Regions from separate parts of the Homo sapiens genome. Here regions 1, 3, 4 and 5 are each linked to region 2. The links are contacts of gene promoters, found by promoter capture Hi-C in blood cells and fetal thymus (Javierre and others, 2016). All regions are on one chromosome and are shown on one strand. Each heading gives the region's core, a stretch centred on a gene start or on the middle of the fragment in contact. The rest is flanking DNA. Distances are from core to core; before and after follow the strand shown.

What was found. Contacts are between HindIII fragments. The CHiCAGO score rates a contact against its expected background, and 5 or more counts as called.
Region 1: the fragment with the promoter of ZNF345 here is called in contact with the fragment with the promoter of ZNF230 in region 2 in 8 of 17 cell types (non-activated CD4 T cells, monocytes, total CD8 T cells and 5 more); the score reaches 23.9 in non-activated CD4 T cells.
Region 3: the fragment with the promoter of CTU1 here is called in contact with the fragment with the promoter of ZNF230 in region 2 in 1 of 17 cell types (total B cells); the score reaches 5.9 in total B cells.
Region 4: a contact is called between the fragment with the promoter of ZNF569 here and the fragment with the promoter of ZNF230 in region 2, in 1 of 17 cell types (activated CD4 T cells). The highest score is 6.2, in activated CD4 T cells.
Region 5: a fragment that was not itself captured here is called in contact with the fragment with the promoter of ZNF230 in region 2 in 7 of 17 cell types (total CD8 T cells, naive CD4 T cells, activated CD4 T cells and 4 more); the score reaches 12.6 in total CD8 T cells.

Annotation. Positions count from the first base shown.
Region 1 is chr19:36,849,543-36,852,242 of GRCh38, forward strand. ZNF345 (zinc finger protein 345) reads left to right here and starts at 1,334. Exons shown (of 3, transcript NM_001242472.2): 1 at 1,334-1,426; 2 at 2,288-2,362. It also overlaps a transcript of ZNF790 not described here. RefSeq lists an enhancer at 857-1,096. The HindIII fragment of the contact is 2,588 bases long and covers 1,097-2,700 here.
Region 2 is chr19:44,001,632-44,004,331 of GRCh38, forward strand. It overlaps ZNF230 (zinc finger protein 230), which reads left to right and starts at 1,326. Exons shown (of 5, transcript NM_006300.4): 1 at 1,326-1,476. ZNF230-DT (ZNF230 divergent transcript) reads right to left here and starts at 1,239. Exons shown (of 3, transcript NR_110727.1): 1 at 634-1,239. RefSeq lists an enhancer at 1,089-1,598. The HindIII fragment of the contact is 6,099 bases long and covers 1-1,519 here.
Region 3 is chr19:51,107,149-51,109,848 of GRCh38, forward strand. CTU1 (cytosolic thiouridylase subunit 1) reads right to left here and starts at 1,261. Exons shown (of 3, transcript NM_145232.4): 1 at 1,199-1,261. RefSeq lists an enhancer at 1,227-1,556. The HindIII fragment of the contact is 4,633 bases long and covers 1-2,700 here.
Region 4 is chr19:37,466,156-37,468,855 of GRCh38, forward strand. It overlaps ZNF569 (zinc finger protein 569), which reads right to left and starts at 1,289. Exons shown (of 6, transcript NM_152484.3): 1 at 929-1,289. It also overlaps a transcript of ZNF570 not described here. RefSeq lists an enhancer at 1,110-1,159. The HindIII fragment of the contact is 12,295 bases long and covers 1-2,700 here.
Region 5 is chr19:36,685,274-36,687,973 of GRCh38, forward strand. ZNF567 (zinc finger protein 567) reads left to right here and starts at 2,339. Exons shown (of 6, transcript NM_001322917.1): 1 at 2,339-2,361. ZNF567-DT (ZNF567 divergent transcript) reads right to left here and starts at 2,176. Exons shown (of 4, transcript NR_110708.1): 1 at 1,995-2,176; 2 at 1,413-1,533; 3 at 564-742; 4 at 166-238. RefSeq lists an enhancer at 2,146-2,195 and a silencer at 2,396-2,455. The HindIII fragment of the contact is 1,031 bases long and covers 789-1,819 here.

The DNA.
Region 1 (2,700 bases), core at 84-2,583, 7.2 Mb before region 2:
GATTTTGTACTCTAGTTCAGAAGAAATGTCTGAATGTTAAATGTTTACATAAAAAATGCTATTTTATTATATCAGTAATGGAGCTTCCCCCCTTTAAAACTGCTGCACCAGGAAGATACAACCTTGTTATCACAATTTAAAGAGAAAATGAGACTTGGAGGTTCAGATTCCTCCACAGTCATAGTATCAGCTACCCACGCAGTGACCCACATTCAGGTGATTACACACACTCATACACAGATCCATACACGATCTTGCCCCCCCCACCTCCACACACTCAATATGACCTCCCCACGCCCAAAGCTGCACACATCTTGACCTCACTTCTCTCACACACACACCAATCTGACCCGCACGCGGTTTCTTTCACTCAACTACCCAGACACCCCTCATCCCACCAGCACAAGCAGGCCCACCGCGGTCTCACACACACTCGAGCCTTCCTTTGCCCAGTCTCACATGCATGACTGGGATCGCGGATTTGTCCCCTTCCGACTCCCCATGCTGGTTCGGTCCCAGACGCTCAGGTGCCACATTGGGGTGCGCTCTCCCGGCTCCTCCACACGCTACGCAGCTGCCCGCCTCAAGAGCGTCTGCGTGCTTCCAGCGTTAAGTGGAATTCCAAGCAGCCTCCGGGGCACAGTTAGTCTGGTCACTGCGGCCAGACTGCCGCCTCAGGACCCAGAGAACGCAGCACACTTTAGTTGGGCCCATCTATCCCCGGCGAGGCTTGGACTACGTTTCCCAGGAGACCCTGCGGTCCAGTATGTCTCCCGAGGAGGGGCGGAAGCCCGGGAGCCGCCCTCTGAGGCTGGGCGGGGTGAAAGAAAGCTTGCCCCAGAGGACTTAAACAGGCAAGAAGGACTTGGTTAAAGACTATTGCAATAGTCAACTTCCAATACAACAGCAGCTGGAGATTTATAGCTAACGGGCTGGGTGAAGGAGTTAAAGGATGCTAAATTACTAAGAGGAAGTTAAGTATCAAGAGTGGGGGGATTGTTACTAAACTGGCTTAGCTGGATTCTTGCTGAAGTGCTGTTCGCAGGCTATGGAGGAGGCCTGGCCAAGCAAAAAGGGCTCAGAGGAGCCTGACTAAAGCTTGGTCTAGGGACTCCTTGTCAGGTGAGACTCCCGGAAGGCTCCGATGGGCAGCTCACCTCAAAGAGATAGTTTTGTTGGTGCCAGAGTCCGCGCCAGGGGAATCGGGATGGCTGGGCTGTAGCTTTCGGCAACCTGTCGCTTTCTGGACTACACTTCCCAGAAGCCTCTAGGCCCAGGGCACTCTCCCGCGATAACTAGATTGTCTCTTGAGGAGTGGGCGGGATCTTCCCGCGGATTTGGGCAAGCGGCCTTGGGGCTTTGTGAGATAGCTAGGGTCGACTTGTGTGGATTCTAGTAGAACGGAGCTGACCCTATCCGAACAGGCGTAAGTGAGGCGGCTCGGAGCCTGGCGCGACAGGAACTCCCGACCTGTGTGGGCTGCGTGGGGAACAGGCTAAGGAGCGATTGTGAGGAGTGTGTACGGTTGTGACTGGGGGCGTGTGTCTGTGCGACCGTGTATGGAACTGTGAGGGCGGGGAGGAGGACTTTTTGTTTATGTTTGTGCGGGTGTGAGTAGAGTTTAATTGTGACCGGGTTGGGCACTGTGTTTGCGAGTGTGAGGTTCCTGGACCGCGGTTGTGACTGTATGTCCCCTTGGGGTGTGTGTGTGTGTGTTTACTACCATTTGCCGAACTGTGTGTAGTATGCCTTAATTTTGAGGTTTGTGGCTGCTTCCGTGTGTGTGTGTGCGCGCGCGTTGGTGATATTGTTGATGGAGGGTGCGTGTGAATTTGTTGTCATTGTGACCCCAAGGTGTATGTCACTGGGAATTTGAGAGATGCCCACGGACTCTGTGGTTGTGTCCGTGTCTACCCCCGTGGTGTGTATGAGTGTGTGATTGTGTGTTGTGTTTAGGTTTGGGGTGCCTGTGACGTTTATGTCCCTGCGGTGTGAGTGAGTTTGTGTGACTATGTGTCCGTATAGCCAATGTAGGTATGGGGAGTCTTTGTCTTTGTGACTTCAGCCATTGGAGACCCCTGTGAGCTCAGGGACAGGTTCTGCCCAGAACGGCATTGACCCTACCGTTGTCTGTGATGCCCGGATTAAGCAGGATGCCCTAGACTTCTCTGACCTTCCTCTGTAGGTGATGGGCAGTAGGGGCTGAGCAAAGATAACTTCTGACATAGTCAAACCAACTCCCTCTCAGAAGAACCTGATGTTTCCTGACTGCTTTCTCCTTCCTCAGCCCTGCCCTGCTTGGATAGAGGCCTCCGAACAGGAGTAAAGAATGGCTGTTGAACATCCACAAGGCACCTGCAAGGTAGCTTGTCCTGTCCTCTTGTTTAAGAAAAATCCCTTTTTCTTTGTCAGGACATAGTTGCTTTCCTTCTCTTGAAAATTCTTGCCTATGAGATGACCTGATCCCTGGAGTTTCCATTTTGAGAAAATGTGGTGTCTTCAAACCCCACCTCCCACACCTGATTTTCCCTTACTGATTTGTCAGATGGTTTTAATTTTTCTTTTTCTTTTTTTTTTCTTTCTTTCTTTTTTTTTTTTTTTTTTTGAGACAGAATTACAGGCGTGAGCTGCTGTGCCCGGCCTTATCCTTCTACTCTTGATGGACATTTGTCTTGTAATTTTTGGCTACTACAGGCAGTG
Region 2 (2,700 bases), core at 76-2,575:
AAAAGAGCAGGTTTTTAGATGAATTGTTTCCTAATTTAGCTTTATACTGTTATTATTTTTTAACCAATGCCAGTTTTTAAATTGCTAACTATAATAAAGAAATTATGTTTCACCAAGAAATAAGAAGAAACTTAAAAAAAAAAATCTTTAATTATTGAGGTATCTGTTGCCTAGGCTGGAGGGCAGTGGTGGCATCATAGCTCACTGCAGCCTCAATCAAACTCCTGGGCTTCAGCAATCCTCCCACCTCAGCCTCCTGAGTACTTGGAACTTGTAGTCCCAAGATCAGGCCACCATGCCTGGCCAGTTAAAAAAAAATTTTTATAGAGACGAAGTCTCCCTGTATTTCCCTGTCTGGTCTCCAATTCCTGAGCTCAAGGGAACGTCCTGCCCTGGCCTCCCAAAGGGTTGGCATTACAGGTTTGAGCCACTGCGCTTGGCCAGGAAGAAAACTCTTTATAAGACATGCTCCTTCACCTATAGAATCCTCCCGTTTTACTGCATTTACAATCTCAATGTAAGATTGATACCAATGCCTAGCTCTTCATCAGTCATTATTGCTCTGAGGTACTGAGCAATTCACTACATTCGCTGAAATTTGATGTTTCTACATCTAAGGAGAAATATGAATACCATGAAAAGTTTATGGGAAGATAGCTATTCCATGACGACACCGCTTCTCCACTAGTAGCTGTGATCTTAAATGGGGGTGGCTTTTCCTGCCAAACCAGTGGTCCCACAGCTTCTGGAGTAGGGGCTGGTGTCTTCCTGCTCCTCATTGCCCCTGCCAAACCATTCCACCTGGCTCATCCTTTAAACCGTTAGTTTTAACCTCCCATCGTCAGATTATCCTAATCCTTGAAGATTTTATCTCCTCGTTTGTTCTCTTCCCAATAACACTCCTGTCATCGTGGGAGGCGTTTAGACTTCAGGAATTCCTGTCTATACACTATTTTCGCTCAAAGACTCAGGAAGAGAGACGGACGACTCACAGGGTCACAGTCCACATTCCCCACCAGGCGCTCAGAGATATGGAATACGTTCCCGGTGGGCACTGCGGTGTGTGTAGTCAAGGACCACCGCGGAGTCCAACGCTTCCCGCTGAAGAGTGAGATTATAGACATTTTCCTTTGGCATTGGAGGAAGCGGAGTCCAGACACACTCTGAGTCGCGGGCAAGTTGGCTCAGGCGGGTGGACGAGTGAATTCTGGGAACTGTAGTCCATCAACTTCATGGAATGGCGGACCCTTTGGCTCAAGCAGTTGAACCGGGGAATTCTGGGAAGTGGAGTCCAGACGCTCTGTGGAGACGCGAGCACTTCCGGTGTGTGAGCCTGCGGTTGCTACATAACCGCGTAGTTTGAGCCATTTCTGCGTCTGGCGGGTCCTTCTGAACTTGTCACCTTCGCTTGGGGTCGCAACGACCCGATGATCGATGATCCAAGCAAGGGAAAAGAAGCCTTGGCGGAGAGCGGAGGTTTGGTGGGGGCGGGGAATGGGGTTTTTTTCCCGTCCACGGAAGCTTTCTGGGATGGGGGTGCTGTGCTCGCATCCCGGGGGTTGGAATTGGCGGGGTCCTCTGTGCCCTGCTGTGAGCGTTTCCAGGACTTTGACCTCGCTCAGCCTGCCTCTCTCCACCCTACCTGTGCGACCGCTTTCTCGCAGTGTGACGTGGAGTGTTACTCAATGTCCTTATACTTTCCATTGCTGTTTTTGGTAATGGGGACATTAGAACCATCCTAGTAGAATCGTTTTTGGGAACTGAAAGAGATAACGCAAATGAGAACCTTAAAGCAGTCCCTGTCACTTGGTGACTGGTGGTCTCTTGTTAACTTCCCGAAGAGGTCAGGTCCCCGGGTGGAGTCATAGCTTCAGCTGCAGGGGCCCTGGTCCTTCTCCCTAATCCCTGCAGGACGCTGGATGATCCCGGGAGGCCTTCTGACCTCTTTTTAGGAAAGCGAGTTGCGTCCGCTTCCACGAAGGGCGGGGAGCATTTAACTTTTATGGGGGACCGCGATGCAGTCAGGGTATTTCACAACTTTCGCCTTCCCCAGCCTGACCTTTCTAAAAGAGCTGCAGGGAGGGGACTTCTTGGCTACTGAGGGCAAATCTCTATGTGATTGGTCCTTGGCTTTTTTCCTTTATAGAGATGTTCACCCAACCGAGAGTGTGTCCTCGGGAATGGGTGTTGATAATCATTAAGCCGTAATTGGTAACTTCATTCTAAGTGCTTTATACAAATAAATTTAGGCCACACTGTGGCTCTGTGAAGTATTGCTTTTCTTTGTTTTAAAAATGAGAGTGAGACACAGGGTGCATAGCAGCCAACTAGTGAGAGGTAGAGCTGGGGTTGGCACCTAGGCAGTCCAGGTCAGAGCCTGAGTTGATCACCTCTTGGATACATTCTCATTGAGGCAGAGGAACTAGCTGGACTCGTAGGGAAAGCAAGTTAGGACCTGATTGAAAGGACGTTGAGAGCAAGGCTCGTGGGCTTGGACGTCTAGGAATTTTTAAAAATTTCTCAACTATTTTGTTTCATGTTTTCCAAGTATTTCGTACTGTTGTGGAACTGTATCATTGTGGAAAAGTCTGAAATAGGAGAAATGAGAGTAGAAAAAGTTTTTTAATTACCCATGTATCCAAGATGTAAAGGTAGTAACTGTTAAGCTTCTAATTGATTTCTTTTGTCTTTCTTTGTGTC
Region 3 (2,700 bases), core at 11-2,510, 7.1 Mb after region 2:
GCAGAGCCTCATAGGCCATGATGTGGAATTTTAGGTTTATTCAGGAGGAGATGGGAGCCTTGGGAGGTTTTTGAACAGTAAAGTGGTATGATCTGGCATGTTTTAAAAGGATTCCTAGACTGGTCAACATAGCGAGACCCCATCTCTAAAAAAATAAATAAATAAATTAGCTGCACCTGGTGGCACAGGCCTGTAGTACCAGCTACTCAGGAAGCCAAGGCAGGAGGATCACTTGAGCCCAGGAGGTCAAGGCTGCAGTGAGCCATGATCGCACCAGTGCACTCCAGCGTGGGTGATAGAGTGAGACCTTGTCTCAAATAAAAAAAGTGGGATTCGTTTGGCTGCTGTGTGGGGAGGACTGTTGGTTGTCAGGGACAAGGACAGAAGGCTGGAGGTCAGCACACTAGACAGGAGTGCTGGCAGTAGAGGTGGGAAGAAGTGAAATTTTGGATCTATTTTGAAGGTGGAGCCCACAGGACTTGTATAAGACTGATTGGAGTGGGGACTGGGGCAACGACGAGAGAAAGTGATGAAGGGTAACTTTGAGGTTCTGGCCTGAGCATTGGAGGGACGGTGGGGCCATTTTGTGAGGTGAGAAGACCAGGAATTCCATTTGGCCACGTCAGGTTTGACATGCATGTTAAGCGTCTTCCCTCAAAGACTTTATGGACCCTCGTCACTGAGTCGAGCGCCTCCACCAGGGCCCTCAGAGCTGCCCTGATCCTGACTAGCTGTCACTGGTGACAGGTCTGTCTCTCTGCTTCAAGGCAGGGACAGGGTTGGTCTGGTGCCCTCGCTCCCGCCGCCCTGCGCAGAGTCGGTGCTCAGTAAGTATCTGTAGGATGAGGGAATAATAAGTGCTCCCAGAAGAGAGGCCGCGGACCCCAGGGATGCCTCTGGATTGCAGCCTTGTCAAAAGGACAGATAATGTGTGGCATGGGGGCGGGGACAGGCAGATAGTAACATAGGGGCGGGGGCAAGCAGATGGTCTTATCCTGTCTTGGGGAAGGGAGTGGCCCGGTAAGAGACAGGCCGGACCGCAGCGTTCAAAGTGGGAATCCTGGCTACAAGGCCTCAGGGACACGGGCGCTGGGAAATCACAGAGGCCTTACGCTCGAAGAGACCCTCAACCCTCCCACGGCACCGCAACAAAGAGCCGGAGTCCACATGCCGACCCACCGCAGGAGGAAATACTCACCCGGGCAGAACTCAGTGCTGGGATGCCCACACTGCCCACCACGCGGAAGCCTGGCCCGGAAGTGACTCCGAGACTACCACTCCCATAAGGTCTTGGGGCTTTCTTGCCTAGAACTCCCAGAAGCCCATGCGACACTTCCGCTGGATGCGCCTACGGCTCCGGGGTCCCGCTTGGCCTACAACTCCCAGAAACACTTGCATTGCTCTTTCTGCCGCTCCCAAAATACACTGCTCCCCCTCCCCCCGCGTTTACTTTCTGCGCCTGCGCGCGGCCGCAGGGAGCGGCGGAGCTGCGTGTACTGTTGTCATGGCAGCGCGCTGTCACCCGGCAGGTTGCTGGATGGGCGAAGTAGTTGTATTCTGATTAACTGATTTTGTGGGATTATTATAGGATTTTAAGGGGATTACAGGGCCTATGATTTCTGCCCTTTGAGGCGGGGTTGCGGGTGGGAATTGAAGGTGGAACTGCAGGGGTTGGTCGCTAGTGTAAAAGGCGCAGATAGCGCATGCGTAGAGCAGACTTCGAGGATTGGAGTGGAACTCCGCGCGCACGCGGGGGCTGTCGTGATGCGCGTGCTGGAGACCCAGACTCTAAACAGAAGGATCCAAAGACCCTTCTCACCTAACCCAGGAGCCCAGAGGCTCAGAGACTCAGACCCTTGAGACTAAGGGGGTTAAAAACGCAGACCCCTGGCACCAAAGCACCTGAGAGAACCAGTAGACCTGGAGACAACCGTCTGCACCCTAGACACAGGGATCTGGAGGCCTCCACCCTCCCCACAAGGCCCAAGGGTCTTGAAGACCCCGGTGACTCAAATACCGGGGCACAAGGAGTTTAAGGACTCAGATATCTGAGACCCTTGAGATCCAGGTCCCCAAACCTAGGTCCTCGAAAAAACTGAGGCTCAAAATTCCTCTAGACGGCGCGGTGGCTTACACCTGTAATCCCAGCACTTTGGGAGGCCGAGGCGGGTGGATCACGAGGTCAAAAGATGGAGACCATCCTGGCCAACATGGTGAAACCTCATCTCTACTAAAAATACAAAAATTAGCTGGGCGTAGTGGTGCGCGCCTGTAGTCCCAGCTACTCGGGAGGCTGAGGCAGGAGAATGGCTTGAACCCAGAAGGCAGAGGTTGCAGTGAGCCGAGATCGCGCCACTGCACTCCAGCCTGGCCACAGAGTGAGACTCTGTCTCAAAAAAAAAAAAAAAATCCTCTAGATTAAGGGACCACCAGAGCCTTAGACTGAGATGTGGAGATGTGCAGAGAGCCCCAGGATGTGTAGGTCTACGGCCGGTGATGACGTGAGAAGGAACCCCATGCACCCTGTAGCCCATTTTTTTCCCCCATAACAGGAAACCATGATGCCTTCCTTTCATATTAAATGAGCTCCGTGAGGTCACTCTTAAGCCTTATCATGGGCCAGTTCTGTTCATCTGTGTGCGTTGGTTCATTTGTTGAATTTATTTCCTGAGGTCTCCTTGTGCCAGGCTGCCCCTGGGC
Region 4 (2,700 bases), core at 39-2,538, 6.5 Mb before region 2:
ATTTTTGTTCTTCGAGCTTTTCTGTATTTTTCTCCACCCCACTCCACTCCCCAAATGGGGTGGAGTAGGGAAGGAGGAGAATGAGTTTAGTAAGTACACAAAACAACGTAGCTAATACACGAAAATAAAATTAAAAATAAATAAATATTAAAGTGTTGGGGATATCGATGTTTCATATAAAAACATATTTCCGGCCGGGCGCGGTGGCTTACGACTGTAATCTCAGCACTTTGGGAGAACGAGGCGGGTGGATCACCTGCGGTCAGTTGTTCGAGACCAGCCTGACCCACATGGAGAAACCCCGTCTCTACTAAAAATACAAAATTAGCCAGGCGTGGTGGTGCGCCTGTAATCCCAGCTACTCGGGAGGCTGAGGGAGGAGAATTGCTTCTTCCCAGGAGGCGGAGGTTGCGGTGAGCCAAGATCGCGCCATTGCCCTCCAGCAGCCTGGGCAACGAGAGCGAAACTCCATCTCAAAAACAAAAACAAAAAAACAACGTATTTCCAATGACCAAAGCTAAAGACATGCAGCGCTGGCACAAACGCCAAGTCTCACACATCTACACCCACAAGCACACCCTACCTTGTATCCACAGTTTTTCATTCATTCAAGATCCCACTGTCATGCACGTTTGCACGCAGGTTCATACTGAAAGATAAAAGGGAAAGCGCCTCCACGAAATCCGCTTACGGACACGATCCCGGGGCCACACTCAGCCAGACGAATGTCTGGCAAATGACAGTCACTTCACGCCAGACTCTCACAGTCCTTCACACGCCACTCCCACTGCCTCAGGGAACCACAAGCACAGGCATCGCCCCGCCCGGCGTCCTCCTCCAAAGATTGGGGCACCAGGACCGCGGGCCCCCACTCCCACCCAGCACAAAGAGTCCGGCGCTCAGAGCTAGCGGTTTCCCGAGGACTCACCACCAAGCCCGCGGACACAGGCCCCGATTCCACACTTAACGCTGCCAAAGTGGCAGAGCCGGCGCGGGCTGGGACAGAGGCGGCACTGAGGCCGGCGCTGTCGGTGGCTGAGAGCGCCACAAGTCTCGGTCCGTTACACCAGGGGCGACGCTTCCCAGAGGCCCCCGCGGCTCACCCGGGCGGGACTGGCTTCACTGTTTGCGCGTCCTGAGAAGCAGACCACGGTGTTCCAGGGCTCACAGCTCCGCGCAGGGGAGCTCAGCCTAGGTTTTGCACGAGCGGCCTCCCGCGAGCCCAGCTCTGAGAGATTGGGAGCGCAACTTGGTGCTGAGAAGAATCGAATCGTTCCGCTGCTTCCTGCGCCGAACTACATTTCCCAGAGGCCTTCGCGGCCCTACTTCCCCGACCCCACCTGCAAAAAGGCACTTCCTTCTTACAGTCGGCTGGAGCTGCAGGTTCGCAAGGTCCGTGAAGGAAGCCCGGCTCAGTGTGTTTAGTTCCGTCTTTTTGGGTCTCTACCTGAGGCTAGAATACAGCGGGGTGAAGGTGGTGAGAGCTCCAGGGCCAGTGAAGGCCGGGTCAGCTGGAGCCTTAAGGTCCTGACAGCGGCTAGAAGAGGGAGGAGTGACGTAGTGTGACTGTATGTGTGAAACTTCGGCCATGGAATTTGGAGTGGGGTTTCCAGGGCGAGAGACCCTGTCCAGTGACATCTGAGGTCGTGCGAATATGCGACCTTTTGTGTGACCATGGTCGCGTTTTATATTCTCGTGGCTGTTTGATTCTGACCTTGCAGTTTTGTCAGAGACAATGTGCATGTATTTGTTCTTTCTGGACTTCTCGATTGTGAGTGTGACAGTGTTATTGGATTTCATGACCCGGGATCGTGAGCGAAAAGTAGTGTGGCCAGACCGCCTGACTTCTAAACAGACTTGGCCTTACTAGCTGTGTCATCTCAGACTAGGTACTTAACTTCTCTATGCCTTTCGTGTTTTTTTTTTTTTGTTTGTTTTGTTTTTTTTGAGGCAGAGCCTCACTTTGTTGCCCAGGCTGGAGAGTGCAGCGGCGCGATGTTGGCTCACTGCAGCCTCGAACTCCCGGGCTCAAGCGATTCTCTGCCTCGGCCTTCCGAGTAACTGGGACCACAATCAAGGGACACTCCGCCCGGCTGATTTTTGTTTGTTTGTTAGTAGAGATAAGGTCTCGCTATGTTGCCCAGGCTGCTCTCGAACTCCTGAGCTCAAGCGATCCTCCCGCCTGGGCCTCAAAAAGTGCTAGGATTACAGGCATGAGCCGCACGGGGCCGGTCTTAATACCTTTAATAAAGAGATAATAGGCCGGACGCGGTGGCTCACGCCTGTGATCCCAGCACTTTGGGTGGGCAAAGCGCACGGATCATTTGAGGTCACGAGGTTTTTGTTTGTTTGTTTTTTAAGACGGAGTCTTGCTCTGTCGCTCAGGCTGGAGTGCAGTGGCGCGATCTCGGCTCACTGCAACCTCCGCCTCCTTTCGCCTCCCAGGTTCAGGCAATTTTTCTGCCTCAGCCTCCTGAGTAGCTGGGACTTAAGGCGCGTGCCACCACGCCCGGCTAATTTTTTTGTATTTTTAGTAGAGACGGGGTTTCACCATGTTGGTCAGGCTGGTCTCGAACTCCTGACCTCGTGATCTGCCCACCTTGGCCTTCCAAAGTGCTGGGATTACAGGCGTGAGCCACCGTGCCAGGCTGAGGGTAGCGGGTGGGAGACTGCCAGGAGTGTAGTGCGCTTGCGCAGTTT
Region 5 (2,700 bases), core at 54-2,553, 7.3 Mb before region 2:
CAAGACTCGGTCTCAAAACAAAAAAAGGGGAGACCAAATTGGCTAGTTAAATAAATGTATGTAGGTGTTATATCACACCCCTGAATAATTCCTCCGAATCGGGGTGGGGGTGTCAGTCATCTGTACTCCACCCAGAAGTCAATGCCACATTCCTGAGTCTACATACCCGTGAAATGATAGGAACCCATGTGCCCATAAGGTCCTGGAGGGGAATGCAAAGTTGGTCAAGACATGGGAGCTAGACAGCAAGGAAAAGGAATTGCAAAGGGAAGTTAGTAGTTAAATAAGTTACCACATATCCATGTAATATAATACTAAGATAGACAAATGCAAAGTTGTAGAAAATAGTTAAGGAATATTTTCAAGATACTGTATCAGAGAAATCACTTTACAAAACAGGTTGAACAATACAATTATATCAATATGGTCATTTAAAAAGTCTAGAAAGTTAAACACCTGTTTCAGTTATTTATTGCTATATAACCACCTCAAAAGTTTATGGCTTAAAACAAAAAACAATTAGCTTATTATTTGGGGGGCTTGGCAATTTGGGCTTGGCTTGCCTGAGTGGTTCTTCTGCTGATCATATTCATGTGACAGCTGTCAGCTGTTGGCCTGGTGGAGGCTGGATGGTTCAAGATGGTCTCCCTGAAATTTCTGGCCGTTGTTGCTCACTGGACCTCTCTCTCCAAGTGATCTTTAATGCGCAAGCAAGTTGCTCTTAGCCTTCAGTCATGGTGGTCTCAGGGCAGGAAAAGGGGAAGAGAAAAAGCTGCAAGACTTCCTGAAGCTTTGTCTCAGAAGTCTCACAATATCACTTCCACCACATTCTATTGGTCAAAGCACCTCACAAGGCCCTGCCTAATAGTAACCTAACCACTGACTAGCATTTCAGGAGGAGAAAAAATACTCCCTTGCTGAAAAACAAAATCAAAGAGAACAAAAATAGAAAATACAACAAAACTTCCTTGACCTTGGTTTTCAGATATGCTCAGCAATGGTTCCCTTTCCTCAGGGCTCTTAGAGAACCTCAAGGCAAGGGAGAAGGGGTAAGGAATCATGAGACATCAGACCTTTCTTGGAACCCAGATTGGCTAAATTGGAAAAAATTATTGCCACCACACGAGCTCTCATCATCTACCATAAACATACTCAGATGGAAGTAAAAGGGAGATGGGAGTACTGCTAACCCTTCTTAGTATTCAAGGGAAAGGCCAGGGTCACTGATATCCAGGACTGGGGACTTTCTCAAAATTCACGTTAAGTCTCCTGCGGAGACAGCTCTGGGAATGATGTGGATCACATGGAACCTGACCTCTGAGAGTTCCCAAGGGAGAGCCTCTGAGGAAGGAATCCTACTCCTAGGTTCTCCCCACGACGTCTTCCCAGAACTCTGCTTAAGGGACACTTACAACTCGAAAAGCCTCGTTCCGAAAACAGGTCTGTCCTTTTTCTGTTTGCAGATTTTATTCCACCACTCGATTATCCCTTCCCTTTTTGATGGCCATTTCACTGCAGCTGGGGTCTATACAGCTATAAAGCGGGAGAAAAAAGGAAGCTGGGAACTCAGAGATGCAGAGCCCAAGAAACAATCGAGTCTAAAACTGCCGCTTAGGTGGGCACTCCGCCAGGATCCCCTGTGTCAAACACCAGGCTGAGAACTGGGGACAGGTGTGCCCTGAGAAGACAACGCGGGCCATGCTTCATTGCAAGATGACTCTGCTTAACATAGGCATGGATCATAGTCCTCACAGGCACATTGGGGAGATCTTCGACAGACCCCTCAGTCCCAACATTAAACACAGCACTGCAGAAATGAAGCTTTACCCGTTACACACACAACACCACAGACCTAAAAGGCTCTTCCATCACACGGCCACAGCAGCACTGTCATGATGGAAGGTCTCAAACCCTACAGTGTCACACACCCGACAGCCGACCACGGCCACCCAAAGGTCCCGCATCCGAGCAGGGACAGGAACACAATCACGCACCTGTCGCAGCCTCCTCGCCGCGCACACCGCCGCCTTGTCCTGGCATCAAACACACACGCACAGGTGCATACACAGGCCCGAGCTACGGCCCTGCACACCCTGTCTGCGTCCCGGGAGCTCGGGGCTTCCTCACCGTGAGCGCCGCCCTCATCCCAGCCACGCACTATGAGAATTTGGAAGGGGAACCAGAGATCAAAGTTCGAAAACCGCCCGGGCGCCTGTGGGAAATGTAGTCCAAGGCCGGAAACGCCCGGATGTGGAGAAGGCGCGCGTAGCCGGTGGACAGCAGGAACGCGCCGCGGAGACACCTGGGAGGCATCGTCCGCGTGGGAGTGCGCATGCGCAGACGCCCGGCCGGCAACCGAAGGTGAGGCTGGTGGGTCCCGCGGGCGCGGAGAAGGCGGGTGACGGTGTGACCCGTAAGGAAGGCTGAGGAGGGAGGCGGGAGCCTGGGCTGGGGAAAGCAAGAAGGGAAGAGGAGCAACCTGGGACGAGGAGTTGGCTGGAGGAAAGTGCGAGTCCGGGCCTCAGAGAAGGCTGGGAGGGAAGCAGGAACCAGAGCGCGGGCCCGGGAGCACCTGAAGAAGGGAACCGGTTGCCCGAGGCGGGGGGTGAGCTCCCCAGTGGCAGGAATTTCGTCTGATTTTCGTCCCCTGGCTCCTGGAGCACGGCCTGGCACACAACAGGCGCTCCGTGTGTGTGTGTG